Linked DNA regions of Homo sapiens: region 1 is linked to region 2. Evidence: promoter capture Hi-C in 16 types of primary human blood cells and fetal thymus (Javierre and others, 2016). All regions are on one chromosome and are shown on one strand. The core of a region is centred on a gene start or on the middle of the fragment in contact, and the rest is flanking DNA. Distances in the headings are between cores, read along the strand shown.

Region 1 (7,373 bases), core at 1,318-3,817, 280 kb after region 2:
CCCTGGAGCAGGTGAGCACTGCGAGGGAACTGAGATGCAAGATCCTCCTGCCTGAACTCACACCCCGCGTGCTGCTCCCCCAACTCGCCTCTTGGATCTCAGACCAGAAGCTTCCTTTCCTCAAAATCCTTCTATGTTCTCCAACGTCTTTGGGACAGAGCTCCTTGGCAGGGTTTACAAAGCTTAGGTGGCCCTACCCACTTCTCCAGCCTCATCTGCTGCCTCACCCCTATACCACAGCTCTGCACCTTTGCTGAAACTGGTACTCGGCGCTTGGGGTGTCCTCATCTTTCCCCTACCTATGGCAGCCTGCCCGAAGAGTGCCTGCTCCTTCAGGCTCCGCTCTCGGCTTAGCCCCTTCTTGGAACGTCCCCGCACCTCACCCCAGCCCCTTGCCAGGGGCAGACCCTGGCAGCCTTCCCTCGTCCTCAGCAGCCATTACGTGTTGCTGTCATAAAGTTATCACTCTGTTTTCTGTCTACTTGTCTCTCTAGCCCCAGCCCATCCCAGCCTCCGACTGCAGGCTCCTGGAGAGCAGGAAAGCCTGGCTCCCCGTGGTAACCCTAAGGCAGGCCCTCTGCCTGGGGCGTCCTGGCACCCTACGCGGGCCGGAGAGCCGGGCGGGGGCGCGACGAGGGGGCGCCCAGGCCGCGGGCTCGGAGCCGGGGTTGGGGGTGGGCGAGGGGAGTCCTTCGCCCTTGCGGCGGGCTCCTGCCCAAGCCAGCCCACCCGGCCCAGCTCCCGCTCCCGCTCCCGCTCCGGAGCCGTGCCCACCGGGCCAGGTGATCTCGAACCTTCTCTCTCTCACACCCCAACAACAAACAACCCTCCACGCTCTCCCTCTGGAGAAAGGAGGTGGAGCCTGACCTCAGCCGGAGGCTGCCGCAGCTGCCGGGGGGAGGGCTTGGAGCTCCAGCCCTTGGGGGAGTCTTTCCTCTAGGGAGTGGTAGGGGTGGGGGCCTTGGAGGGCTCCTGAGCGCCGGGGAACCTCTCCCCCCGGCAGCGTCGACCCTCCCCCAGCGAAGGGAGGAGGGGCAGAGGGGGGGTGGCCTCAGTGAGTGCCCACTTCCGACTCTGTCCCTCTCTCAGGCTGCAGTACCCTCGGACACCTCCTCCCCCACTTACACCCACCCCCTCCTTGAACTCTGCAGTCCCAGAGGCAGGGTGAGACTGGGGACCAAGTGAGCCCAAGGGCTAAGATGCGACTCTGCTGGGCTCCCGGGAGCCTGGGGGGTGCCCATCCCCCACCACTTGACGGTAGTCGGGGGTGTGGGCGGGGTGAGAAGGACCCCGGGGACACTCCGATTAGGTCTGGAGACAGCCTGAAATAGGGTGTAGCCCGCAGTTGTTGGGGCTGCGGAGGAGGCGACTGGGGTGAGGGGCAGAGAATGCACCCCAAGAGAAAGGCATAGGGCCCCAAAGAGGGTAGGAGACGGGATTCAGAGAGCGGGAAGGAGAATGCAGAAACAGCTTTTACGGGGAGAGGCAGACTGCAAAGACGTCCCCTGGCCGGCAATCTGGAGGCTAGCGCTGGGCAGATGGGGGTTTTGGACACAGCGCCATGGACATGTGTTCCCCAAAGTCTGAGCGCATGCAGCCCCCTTGTTCCTTCTTGTGCGGAGACTGAGTCCCACACAGTCCCTACCTCACCGGGACCTCCCCACCCCCAAGGCCGGGGCCGTAGTTGCCTTCAGGGGAGGGAGAGGTCCTGTTCCTCACTGGGCACTCAACAGCTGGCTCCTTGGTGGTAGGAGGGTACCTTGCCCCTCCAGCTCAAGAGTCAGGAGGAGCACTTCTACCTCCTCATCCCTAGGGAAGAGGGCCCCCGCAGGTAAAGACCAGACTTCTGCACTAGGATTTGCCTGGGGGGCAAATAATTTCTGGAGATCCCTTTAAGGAGGGGTGTTCCAATCCCTTTAAGAGGGAGTGGGTCACAGCAAAAGGACTATAAAAGTCCAGCTTTCTTTATTCCCCCACCCCCCAGGGGCTTCCTATGATGGGGGAGGGGGCAAGTGCTGCTGCCGCATTTAATTGTTGCCTTGGTGTCCCTCCCCCAAAGAGCTGTGCCCTTCAGTTCGTCCAGTGGGGCTGAGGAGCCGGGTGGCTCAGTAAGTATTGTGGGGACCTAGACTTCAGGTGCTCTGGGGGTTGGGACAGGGGCTGCCCCACTTCCAGGAAAGAAGGTGGGACCTGGGCAGGGGCTGGAGGGAGGAGAAAGTGGTCACTGCCACCACTGCAGGGACTGCACTGCCGTTGGGGTGCCCTGCCTGGTGCCAGGTGGTTGGATCTCAGGCCAGGCGGTCTTCGGGGACTGCAGCGGGCAGTGGCGGGGAGGTGCTGGGGCTGGGCTGGAGATGACCGAGCAGCCAGTCTGTCCCGGCTGTCAGTCTGGTTGTGTGTGGTGGGGGAAGGGTGCGCCGCGTGGTCTCTCTGGCCCTGGATGTTTTACTCTAGGGCATCTCCCTCTGAGGCAGTTAACCCTTCCCGATGGGTCTGGAGGTGTCTGGGGAGAGAGAGCCCCTGCCTGGCAGCAGCCCGGGAAAGACTCCGGAGACCCGATGGACCCATTCCTCTTTCTACACCAAGTGCCAAACCCTTTTTTCAGTGGGAGACCTCTGGGCTGCCAAACATACCAGGGAGAGGAAAGGTGATGGGCCCCAGGCGTTGGCACAGCTGCCCAGTGAAGTGGGGTGGAGGCAGCATTCACTCAGGAAAGGTTACAGGACCGAAGGAAGGAGGAAGAGGTGGAGCCCTTTCCAGCTGTGGAAGGGCTTTGGACTGGGAAAGAAGGAGGCCCAGTTGCAGAGGTCCCTGAAAGTTGGGTGAAGGAGGCTAGGAGAGGCCAAAAGTTCCCTTTGGGGGACAGGCAGGGTGTAGCCCCTGCCTATTCTTTGCTGGCTTGTTTTAACAAGCAATAGGGAGGAAGGGGGGACAGAGGTGGCTCAGTGAGCTGGCACAGGAGGAACACTTAGTGCCTTTAGCCAGCCCGTGTCCCCGCACCATAGCCCACTCAGTCAGAGCCTCCTGGGGCAGCGGACACCGCCACCCACACTGGAGGCTCTGAGGGGAGAACTCCTCCAGCGGCCAGGCAGGCACTTGGTGGGCTGTCATGACTACTCTGCCTCCTCTCCGGTTGGTATTCCTTCCTTTCCCTCCCACTGAGACCCCAGATAAGACAACACTCCCCTGCTCACCCCAGGGCCCTCTAATGCCAACACCAGGAAGACACCCAATCCTGCCACCTCGTCCTGCTGCCATTTCCTCGGCTGAACGTGGGCTTCCTGCCACTTAGGTCTCCTTCCCTGCCACCAGGTACATTCCTCTTCTGGCCCTCCCGGCCTCCATCCCTGCCCATTATCAGGCCTGAAGTGGCTGCCAAGGTCAGCGCCGCCTGGGCTGCAGACAGGAGCCCGGCCTCTCTTCTGTCTTGGCCTGTAGCATGGCTCTGCCCCCGTGGCCACCACTGCTGTACCCTCCACCACCAATCTCTGACGAGTGGGGGCCACCGTGGGGTTAATTTGCCTATGGGCCAGACTGGGACAGGGAGAGGGGGAATTCTGTGAGGTGGGGAGTAGGGCTGGCCTGGTGTGTGTTGGGGGGGCGCTGCCGGGAACCTCTGTCCTGTCCAGGAAGGGGAGAAATCTTTCAGCGTCCTACTTTTACAGCTTTGGGGTTTTGCTTTCCCCAAGGGTGGGAGGTGGGAGAAGTGGCAGTGGGAGAACCTGGACCTTCGAGACATTTCCGTGCCACAGTTTTAGCTTTTAGCTTCCATTCACACACTTTCCCTGCTGAGGGGGCCCCTCCTTTAAGTGTGTCCCCCCAAACAGCTAAGACAGTCTGGGCCCCCTGGACAGCTCTGGAGGCAGATGGGGAACTGCTTCTGGGGGAGGTTGTTTCCCAGCCATATTGGCTAGCAGCCCTGATTGTCTTAAAAGGCTGCCTGGGTGAGCGCTGGAGTCCCAAGGTCTAGGAAAGGCTGGGCGCTGTGTGTGGTGCAGGAGGAGCCCCTCCGAAGCCCCTGGGCCACACTCCAAGGCTGGGTTTTCCTTGCTTGCCTGGGCAGCCTCAGCACTCTGGGTGCCTCTCTCTGCCCAAGGCGTTCCTGGGGCCCAGCCCCTCCCTGGGCTGCTCCAGCGCTCTGGTGACTTGACACTACCCTTTCTGCCGCTGCTCCTTTTACCTCCTAAAGCTCCCCTCCCCCGCCTGAATTGGGAATGAGGCTTTGTTCAGGGGTGAACTCAGCATTTCTCGAGAACCTACTGTGTGCATATCCCGGGCTTAGTGAAGTCCTAGGCGGGCTCTGGCACCACCAGGTGCCCAAGACACAGCTCCTTCCCGCACCTAACAGGGACTTCCCATCTCTCTCTGTGCCCTTAGCCTGCTGTGCCCACCCACCCCACTGACCCCGCGAGCGTGCTCGGGCTTGGGAGGGCACGTCTGTGGGGGTGAGAGACGGAGCCACAGCATTTGGTGACTAGGGGGAAGCCAGGTAAGTGTCTACACTTGGTTCTCCCGTAGCTTGGGGACGCGAGGGAGGGAGTCCAGCCGCTCCTGTCAGGCTGCCCGCCCCTTTCTCCCTCCCCCGGAGAGCTCTGATGTTCCCCGCGGTGGTGGAAGAGGGTGTGTGGGTGTCAAGGACTCACAGACCAGGCTCTGCTGTCAGCTGGAAATGGATGAGGGCTCCACACTCTGCTTCTGAAGAGGGTGAATTAGGAGCTGGGGTTGGGGGCGGTAGGTGAAGGGCAGAAAGAGGAAAAAGAGATGCGGGTGAGGGGTTACCGAGCCAGGACCGACCTTGCTGGAAAGGAAAGGAGACGTGGCAGGCAGGGAAGTCGGAAAGATGAGGCAAGGGCGGGAGGGGCTTCTCAGCAGTCGGGGCCCTTTTGCAGGAGTCTGGGGCCCTTTCTGCAGGAAAGGGGGGTTGTTCTCGCTTGATTTTCGGCTGGTCTTCCTGAAGCTTTGCCCTGGGGGCAGCAGCCTCCGGCGAGGATGGGGTGTTCCTCGGCCCGCAGTTTTCTCCAGCGCGTGCTGGGGAGGATTTGGGGGAAAGGGGATGCGGAGGGGTGATGGCCAGGGCGGGGGGAGATAAGATTTTTCCGGGGGGGCTAGCAGCTGGGAGATTGGGGTCGAGTCACCGTGGGATACGGGCTCAGGTTCTGAAGACGAAGAGAAAAATCCAAGAAGCCGGCAAAGAAAATCACCCCTTGCCACCACCCTTGGCACGGCACCCCTCCCCCAAGGCCCCACCACTCCCCGCACCGCCTCCCCCGGCCGCCTCGTGCTGCCCCCTGCGTTGGGACGACCGACCCACGGTTCTGATTGGTCAGAGACCGGGAGGGGGAGCCGAGGGCCGGATTGGCTGGCGGAGCCAGCGCAGGGCGGGGCGGCTGATTGGCGGAGCTGGCCGAGGGGCGCGCTGCTGATTGGCTGGGGACGAGGAAGCAGGAAGGAGGGCGGCGGAGGCTCCGCTCTCGGGGAGTTTGTGGGGGAACCGCGAGCGGCGTAGCGGATCCCGGAGCCCGGCCCCCGCCGCCCGCCCGTCCGGCTGCCTGCCCCGCCCGTCCGGCCCCCGCCGTCCGCCCGCCCCGGCCAGGCGCGCCCGCCCCCCCCGACGGCCCCGCCCGGCCGCGGTCCCCGCTCCGCCCGCCCGGCCCCGGCCCCCAGGAGGAGGCGCTGACGCAGCAGCGTGGAGCCCGGGAATTGAGCGCCCCCGGGGGGTTCCAGCCGCCGGATTCCAGCCCGGCCGGGGCCTGCGGGCGCCCAGAGCCGCGCCGTCCGCGCCGCCCGTTCTGGTGAGTCAGGGGCCGGGGTCGAGGAGGGGGAAGGGGCGAGCTGGAGGGAGGGAGCGAGCGAGGTAGGCAGAAGAGCGAAGGGGGAGAGCACCGGCCGCCCGTCAGCGCGCCCCACCGAGCGCGCCGCGCCACCGCCCCCGCCAGCCCGGGAAGGGACGGACGGACGGACGACGCGAAGCAGGTGCGGCCGCCCGCCCGCTCGCGCCACCTCCCTCCCCTGGGTCCGGCACCACGGTCCCGCCATCGGGGAACGCGGCGCGCCTCGAGGTGACAGCCCCCGGGGGCCGCCCGCCTTGCAGGCCGGGGGCGGGGTGGGTGGCGGCCGCAGGGTGGCAGCTCGGCCGGGCGGCGGCGGCGCGGGCGTCCCGAGCTGCGGAGGGCGGGAGGACGCCGGTCTTTCCTCGCCGCGGCGGAGCCGGCTCGCCTCCGAGTGCGCGGGCGGCGAGGCCCCCGCCGCGCCCCCTCCCCCATCGCGGTCCCCGAGGCAAGGGGCCGCGGCCGGGGGCGGCGCCGCGGGATCGCCCGCTCAGGGTGGGGGGCGCCCTCCCGCGCTGGGAGCTGACCGGTTATTGCTGGATGGGGGGCAGGGGATGAGGGCCGCGCCGGGCCGGGGGCGGCAGGGGGGAGTAGTGTAGACCCGACTCGATCGGGCTGAGAGGAAGGGAGGCGCCGAAGACGGAAGGGGACCGGTTCGAAAAGCGAGTGTGGGCCGCGGGAGGCCCTGCGGGGACCTTGCGGGGCGGCGGCCGAGTCCGAGGTGTGGCGGGGGGAATCGAAGTTGTCAGACCGCCTCCAAGTGACAGCGGGACCCTGTGCTCGCGGCCCGGCCTGGTCTTGCCCTGCTCGCTCCGCCGCCTCTCTTCTGGGGCTGGGGGCCGGGTCAGGTCGGGCCCGAGGGGCTCGCTTGGCGGTGAAGCGCCGGACAAAGGCGGCGCCGGAGCGGGCGCAGGTGGTGGCGTCGGGGAGGGGAGCGGGTCCGAGGCACCCACTCCGAGGGGCGGGCGACGGGGCCGGACTCTGCCCCGGGGACTGCGGGGGCCGGGGCGCCCGCCGGGAGGAGCTGCGGCACTGGCTTGCCGCTCTAGCCGCTCGCTGTTGGCCTCGAGGCTCTGGGAAGTGGGGTCTACTTGCCGGGGGCCGAGGGGCCGGGGTGGGGGTGTATGCTCATGATGTGCCTTGGCTGGTGGCGACGGGGTTGCTACTCACCGAGGCGACAGACCCAGTGAGCCGCTGTAGAGCCTGTCAAGAATGAGGGGTTTTTCAACAAGCAGAGTCTGCCTACAGGCAGAAGTCTAACCCCACCTGGGACATCTCCTAGTCGCCCATTGTCGACAGTGTTAGAAGTGCAGAAGACTAGTTTGATTAGGACAAGAGACACCCCACCCCGTGGGCTCCCGCCAGCCCTCCGCAGCTGCCTCCAGCACTTTTCCTTAGCCACAAAGGTACCCACTTAGAAAAATGAGAAGCTGAGTTTATAAATCCAGGCAGGAATTTAATAATGAAATAAAAAGCTTTCCAGTCCTTTTACTTTGTGCCACCTGAGACTTTCCTCCCTACTCTCTTCACCTCGCTGTCTTCCAC
Region 2 (7,309 bases), core at 2,729-5,228:
GTCTGGATTCTGTTCTCCCTGCTTTAGCTTGGGAGCCCGTGTTGGAAGAAAGGCACTGAAATGCCTCAGAGCAACAAGTGTCAAAGACCTACATGGAGAGCGGAAGCTTGTGGTTGTCTTGGCTCAAGAGGCTGGGGTTGGCCAGGCACGATGGCTCATGCCTGTAATCCCTGCACTTTGGGAGGTCGAGGCAGGCAGATCACCTGAGGTCAGGAGTTCAAGACCAGTCTGGCCAACATGGTGAAACCCAGTCTCTACTAAAAATACAAAAATTAGCCAGGCGCCTATAGTCCCAGCTACATGGGAGGATGAGGCAGGAAGATCGCTTGAACCTGGGAGGTGGAGGTTGCAGTGAGCAGAGATTGTGCCACTGCACTTCAGCCTGGGTGAGAGAGTGAGACTGCATCTCAAAAAAGAGGCTGGGGTTCTCATCTTTGGTATGTTCAATCATCCCAGAGGTGAGCCTGAAATTCTAAAACATAAAGAGTTCCTCCAAAGTTGCTCTGGGCGGGTCCCAAATTCAAGTTTCCCACTGGCCCTCAGTCTCCTAAGGTTGTTTTAAAGGGAGAATGTTGGCCAATTCTGACTGGGACCCACACCTCCAGGTAAAACTTTAAAAGGACAGCCTTTAGAGAAGAAGGCAGAGATGGGAAAGAGGTAAAACAGCTGTCACCTCTCTTAATTCTAACAATCTTCTCGCACCTAGCTGTAGCCAACTTAGTTCCCACATTCAGCGAAGTTAAGTTGTTTCCAATCATTTGGCCCCTCCCAGCCTGGGGGCCTCTGACCTCTGGCCTTTCTTTGGAAAAGCAATGCAGAGTCCAGATCTGCAGGAGTAGCTCCCAGCTGGGCCCCCGAGAAGGGAAGAAGCAAACTTTCCACAGTTTGCACCAAGACCCAGGAGGCAATGTCAGAGAGGAAGTGAGGAAGCCTGCCTGGCAGAAAAGCAATGGCGGCTCAGACATATCCACCCACAGACACTCCATTCTCCTGCAAGTGTCCCCACAATGGATTGGCTCTGCCAGGAGCCATCCCTACCCCCATTCAGCTATCTTAGAATTGTCACCTCCTGAAATAAGGACAGAACATTATGTAACCCATTTCCTCAGGCCTCAGACCTATGGAGTCACATGCACTAGTCAGGAGAATCCCATTGGCTCTTCCATAGGGCCCCAGGGCCGCTGCACACAGGGCTTTGTGTGAATTAGAGAGAGGAGGCCTCTCTGGGCACTTTTGAAGGTGCCTTCTCTGAGTAGAAAAAGCAGAAAAATGTCCCCATTTGCGTGACAGGCACTCTCGGATGCAGCAATATTTATGCAACTGTATGTGTGGCACTGAATGAGTCCCTCCTTTTGAAGCCTTCCCTAGGTGGTCTGGGTGTTTTCAGAGCATCTGCCATGTTCCTCCTGTCCTGCTCAAGCTCTCTCTGGTTGATGGCCTCTGTCTCCAAGGCTACTGGAGGACATCTTGCTTCTGCTGGTGTCCACTGTGGGGTGCTGATGTCTGGCTCCAGGGAGGGCCTCCCTGTGCTCTCAGAATGGCCAAGTGAGGCTGTGCCCTCGGCGCCTGGGCACGAAGGCAGTGCTGTTGGAGGCTGGCATCACACTGAACCAGCTTTTTTTTTTTCCTTTTTAGAGACAGTCTCACTCTGTTGCCCAGGCTGGAGTGCAGTGGCATGATCACAGCTCACTGCAACCCCCGCATCCCGGGTTCAAGCGATTCTCCTGCCTCAGCCTCCGGAGTAGCTGGGATTACAGGCATGCACCACCACACCCAGCTAATTTTTGTATTTTTAGTAGGACGGGGTTTCACCATGTTGGCCAGGCTAGTCTTGAACTCCTGACCTTAAGTGATCCGCCCGCCTCAGCCTTCCAAAGTACATAGAACCAGCTCTTAAGGCCACTGCCTCAGGCCCTCACTCCACAAAACCGTAAGTCCTTGGGACCAGGCCAACAAAGGGTCACAATCCAAGGTGGATATCCTGTGCCCCACTCACTCCAGTTCCCCCAAGTCCACAGACAAACCCTGCTGCTTTCAGCATTCCTCTTCCTCAAAGGCAAACCTTGCTTGCTGGGAGCTCCACCCATCAGTTCATGGGACATCCCTAAAAACTCATTTTCCAAATTAAACCACAGAGTACCTTCTGTCATACATTTTGGAGTTTTGTTTTACCTACCTCCTTCTTTTCCCGTAGTGAAACAAGCAAGGGGTTTAGCCTGAATGCATTCTACATCGTAGCAGAGTTTATGGGGAATCCGACTAGGTTATAGGAAAGACTGAGATCAAAAGACCAAACACTACGTTTCCAAGATTGTTTGTAGGAAATAGTCAAAATTGAGAAGCTGTAGATATGAACAGGACACCCTGTTGAAAGAAAATGAAGTGCTAGGCCAGTACTGACATAAGGTAAGAGATAAAATGAGCCAGTGAGAGAATCCCACGCACCACACCTCATATGATCCAGGAAAGCTTCCTGGATGTGGAGGACTTTGATGTAAAGAGTAACCAAAATTTCCTATGAGGAATCACCCCTTCCCCTCTCTCAGTCCCAAGGTGAAACACATGACTTGGTTCTGAACAATCAAAGCCCTGAATCCACTATCCCCAGTGACTGTTTGGGAGGAAGGGGTTAAGCAGGGTGACTCCTAAGTCTGAATTTGAACCTGTAAGGATAAAGTCGTGAATCTGTTACCCAATGGAGAATGACAATAAGCCAACAACAAGAGTAGAGGCGAGAAATGGAGAGAGGCCCAGTCCACATGAGTCCTGGGTTAAGCTTTATCTGAAGTCTTTTATATATAAAAGACAGTAAATTCCCTTTTCTGAGTAGGCCGATTTAAGTTGGATTTCTACTTCTTTGGAATCAAGAGTCCTGATGATTCAGAGGAAAGAAGGACTTATATAACATGAACAAAGACAGAAAGCTGGGAACTAAGAACCAGAGGGTAGTGGACAGTATCCTCAGCATCTGCCTCTGGGAAGTGCCACCTCTCTGACCATCCCCACAGTCATAAAGGAGAACTCCCCTGTACCTGGGCTTTCTTAAATGACCCTGTTCCTTCCTCAAGGTGGCTAATGCCTGTAATCGCAGCTACTGCGGAGGCTGAGGTGGGAGGATCACTTGACCCCGGGAGTTGGAGGCTGGAATGCAGTAGCCCCATGATGGGGCTACTGCACTCCAGCCTGGGCAACAGAGCAAGAAGAAGACCCTGTCTCTAAAACAAAACCAACCAACCAAACAAACAAAAAGACTCTACTCCCCTGGTCACATCTGAGCTATCACAATTTCTTCCTCAGAAAATTGAAATTGCAACAAACAGTTTAATGTCAGTCAAGGCTAGTCCCCTGAAGGGGAAAAGAGGTAACACCTTGGGAACCATAGCATGGCTGTGTTTACTGCTTGTGGACTGAGCAGAAGAGAAAGCAAGACAGTATCATCACTTTATAGATGAGGAAAACTGATGGTCAGAAAGATTATGTAGCTTGCCTAAGGTTGCACATTTGGTATGATTTTACAGAACTAGAATCCAGCTTTTTGAATTCAAGGGTGGGGCAGGAAACAGCTAGGTCAGTGGCCTAAGAACTCCGGACGGGTGAGATTTGGGGCAGACAGCAGGGGTAGTCACCCTACAAGAGTCACGCCAAGTGCAAGCACTCAGAGACATCTCCCAACACTCAAAACAGCAAAGAAGTTCTGGTGCTTTAAGTGTTCCTCGCTCGGCTCAGAGACTCGGCTTCGAGCCGCGACTCAAGACAGCACCTGGGGGTATTTGTTTTGCCTAAGCCTGCTGCACTTCCACGGCCATTGAATCCCAAAAACTACAATTCCCATTATGCACCGCGAGTTCGCGGACTAAACAGGCATAAACTACAAGCCCCAGAATGCCTTGGGCGAGACGCGAGAGCACGGAGGAGCGGAGGGGCGTGGCCACGTCGACCGCGCGGGACCGTTAAATTTGAAACTTGGCGGCTAGGGGTGTGGGCTTGAGGTGGCCGGTTTGTTAGGGAGTCGTGTACGTGCCTTGGTCGCTTCTGTAGCTCCGAGGGCAGGTTGCGGAAGAAAGCCCAGGCGGTCTGTGGCCCAGAGGAAAGGCCTGCAGCAGGACGAGGACCTGAGCCAGGAATGCAGGATGGCGGCGGTGAAGAAGGAAGGGGGTGCTCTGAGGTAGGTACGGGAGAAAGCTGCTGGGGGCTGGGCCTGAGAGGACACGGCCTGGTAGGTAATAGAAGGCTCCGCTCGGAGCAGTCGAGGGGGAGATCGGCACCGTCAGAACAGACCCCACCGGAGCCTCCTTCCTTTTGGAGTAGAATGCCGGAGGTGGAGGTGAAAACGCAGTGGACTGAGGGCACGTGCGAATCCTGCCGCATCCAGCTTCAAAGCGAAGAAGGCTGCGGGACCCCAGCGGAACAAAGAGTTTGGAAGTTGCAATGTTGTCTGTTTGTAACTCAGCTCAGCCACCTGCTAGTTGTTTGACCTTGGGCAAATCGTTTGTATGGAAAATGCTGATGTTAATGCTGCCTTACGTGGTTCTGGGGGAATTCAAAGTATTTGTTAAGTAACTGCTTCCAAATAAGCGCTCAACAAATGGCAGGTGCTATGCCAATAGCACAGAGATCTGAAAGCCTTTAGCCAATATCATAGAGATCTAAATTATGCCAATAACATAGAGATCTAAAAGCCTTTTTCTGCATGTTTGCGGCTTTTCCTTGTATTAAAAAAACTATATTGCAGTTCTAGGTTGGAAATCTGTATGTGTTTTCACTGTGGTGCCCGCAATACCTAGATAAGTGCTATGTCATGGGCTCTTTCATTCATGTAACAAGTATTTTTTTGGCTAAGCTCTGAGTGCAGCAAATATACAGACACAAAAATCTCAACCCTCATGAAGCTTAAGTTCTGGCATGGGATGAAGGTGGGGGAGTCAGACAATAAAGACAAACTGTTAGGTGGAGATGTGGTCAGTACTAAAAAAAATAATAAAGCAACTGGGTGTAGTGAATATTGGGGGTGGGGATTGGTGCAATTTAACTTGAACACTGGAGTCTCACTGAGGAGATGTCACTTTGGTCAAGACTTGAAGGAATCTCAAAAGCTAGAGGTTCTATATCTGAGGAGAGTACAAAGGCTGAGGGTGAGAGCTAGGGGAGGAAGTTGCACCTGGCATGTCCAAGGCCATTGTCACTGGAGCAGAATTAACTAGAAGAGTAAAAGGATATTATGTAAAAATGGTGAAGATGCAGATTGTAAGGACTTAGCTTTTACTCTAGTTGTAATCAAAAGTCATTGGAAGGTTTTGAGCAAAGGAAAGACATAATCTGACTTGGGTTTAAATGGGGTCACTTTGGCTGTAGTGTTGAATACACTAAAGGCAGCAAAGGATGGAAGCAAGGGACACCAGTTAAGAGGTTATTGAAATAATTCAGCTCAAAAGTGAGTTGAGCCAGGTGGAAAACAGTGGAGATGATGATAAGTGGTTGATTTCTGTATATATTTTGAAGGTAGAACCAGTAGGACTTGCTGACTGACTGAGGGGTATGAGAAGGGCATCAAAGTTGGCACTAAGATTTTTGGCTTGGGTAACTGAAGAATGGGATTGCCATTTATTTGAGAAAGAGGAAGACTGTGGGAGGAGCAGGTCTGGGAGGAAGTGGGGGCAGTCTTAGCTCAATTTGGGATATTTAACTGAGATAGTGTAATTCACTATTTTTAAGAGCAAGAGAAGAAAGTTCAGATGAATTCAACAAACAGGGCATAATAGTGTTATATCTCGTATTAGATCATGGGCATACAAAAATAAATGGCATAGCCCTTACCTTTACAGAGTTCACACAATATAGAGCAGGTCCTGGTATAACATCGTTTCGTTATAATGTTGATGAGAAAAAAAATCAATTCATTGCGGGGCTGCTGTGTATGTGGAGTTTTCATGTTTTCCGCATGTCTGCATGGGTTTCCTTAGGTACTCCAGTTTCCTTCTACATCCCAAAGATGTGCCTGTTAATTGGCGTGTCTAAATGATCCCAGTCTGAATGGGTGTGAATGTGATGCTCCCTGTGATGGAGTGGTGTCCTGTCCAGGGTTGGTTCCTCTCTGAGTTGCTGAGATGGGCTCTGGCCACCCTCAACCCCGAACTAGAATAAGTGAGTTGGAAAATGAATGAAGGAATGAATACAAATTACTGTAAAATAAAAATCTGTAAAGGCTGGGAGCGGTGGCTCACACCTGTAATCCCAGCACTTCGGGAGGCTGAGGCAACAGGATTGCTTAAGCTCAGCGGTTCAAGACCAGCCTGGGCAACATAGTAAGGCCTGTCTCTATTTAAAAAGTTTATATAAAGTGTGTATGATAATCATATAAATGCATGACAATAAACAATGCCTTATGAAAGTGCCCAGCATGCCCACTATAGTGTTACTATTTGTTTTTTGAACTTTGTGGTGGTAGGAGGTACTTCTTGAAATTTTCACTCTCAAACATTTATTCCTTGAGTTAACCCACCAACACTATGACTGCAGTCATTCACTGATTCGCCAAAAATTGGGTAAATGATTATTTTTTGTTTTCATTAAATGTTCTTAAGTGTACGGATAGCTCACATTTATTTCAATATTTAGTATTAAAAATGTTTGTTTCGAGTCTTTATTCAGAAGTTTGGTGACGTTTTTGTGACCAGAAATATGCCATAGGAACTTAACTTTTGTTTATGTCGATCAGCCTGTGGTAAAATTGGTTTTGTTACATGTCATTTTGATTAAAGTCATAGTTTCCAAGAAGCTGTCTCCAACGAGTTTTCAGTGCTCATCTAGACTGAAGTCACATATAACTTTCACTCTATTTCAAAGATTAGTGCCAATGTGTCTCTCTTTTTGTTTTAAGTCCAGAGGTAATGTCTCTTAGAAATAGTCTTCTATCTAACCATTGCAGGGCTCTGAATTGCAGAATACGTAATGGGAATTACCTCCAAAACGTTTCGGGGGTTTTCTCAGTAGGCTTGCTAGAATTGGGTGTGAGGATGCAGGGAATTGTGACTAGTAAACTGTGTTTGTTTGCTTCTGCTTTTAGCTACTTATATGTACAAACTTCAGTTTTGAATCATCATTGAAACATGGGACATTAGTCTCACCCACACTTTGCTAATTTTAATGTTTTTTTTTTGAGACAGGGTCTTGCTCTGTTGCCCAGGCTGCAGTGCAGTGGTGTGATCATGGCTCACTGCAGCTTCGACCCCTGAACCCAAGCAATGCTCCCACCTCAGTCTTCTAAGTAGCCACGACCATGGGCGTGTACCACCACGCCTGGCTAATTTTT

The links. The method cuts DNA at HindIII sites, captures the fragments that hold promoters and counts their contacts. A CHiCAGO score of 5 or more calls a contact.
Region 1: a contact is called between a fragment that was not itself captured here and the fragment with the promoter of BUB1B in region 2, in 1 of 17 cell types (fetal thymus). The highest score is 5.5, in fetal thymus.

What each region holds. Positions count from the first base shown.
Region 1 is chr15:40,435,477-40,442,849 of GRCh38, forward strand. BAHD1 (bromo adjacent homology domain containing 1) reads left to right here and starts at 5,477. Exons shown (of 7, transcript NM_014952.5): 1 at 5,477-5,792. It also overlaps a transcript of IVD not described here. RefSeq lists enhancers at 955-1,493, 1,494-2,031, 4,183-4,720, 5,526-6,027, 6,028-6,527 and silencers at 5,183-5,852, 5,279-5,464, 5,913-5,972, 6,693-6,812, 6,833-6,902. The HindIII fragment of the contact is 4,775 bases long and covers 181-4,955 here.
Region 2 is chr15:40,157,091-40,164,399 of GRCh38, forward strand. It overlaps BUB1B (BUB1 mitotic checkpoint serine/threonine kinase B), which reads left to right and starts at 3,979. Exons shown (of 23, transcript NM_001211.6): 1 at 3,979-4,165. The coding sequence starts at 4,131. RefSeq lists enhancers at 379-1,239, 4,113-4,212, 4,233-4,362, 4,370-5,134. The HindIII fragment of the contact is 2,113 bases long and covers 2,775-4,887 here.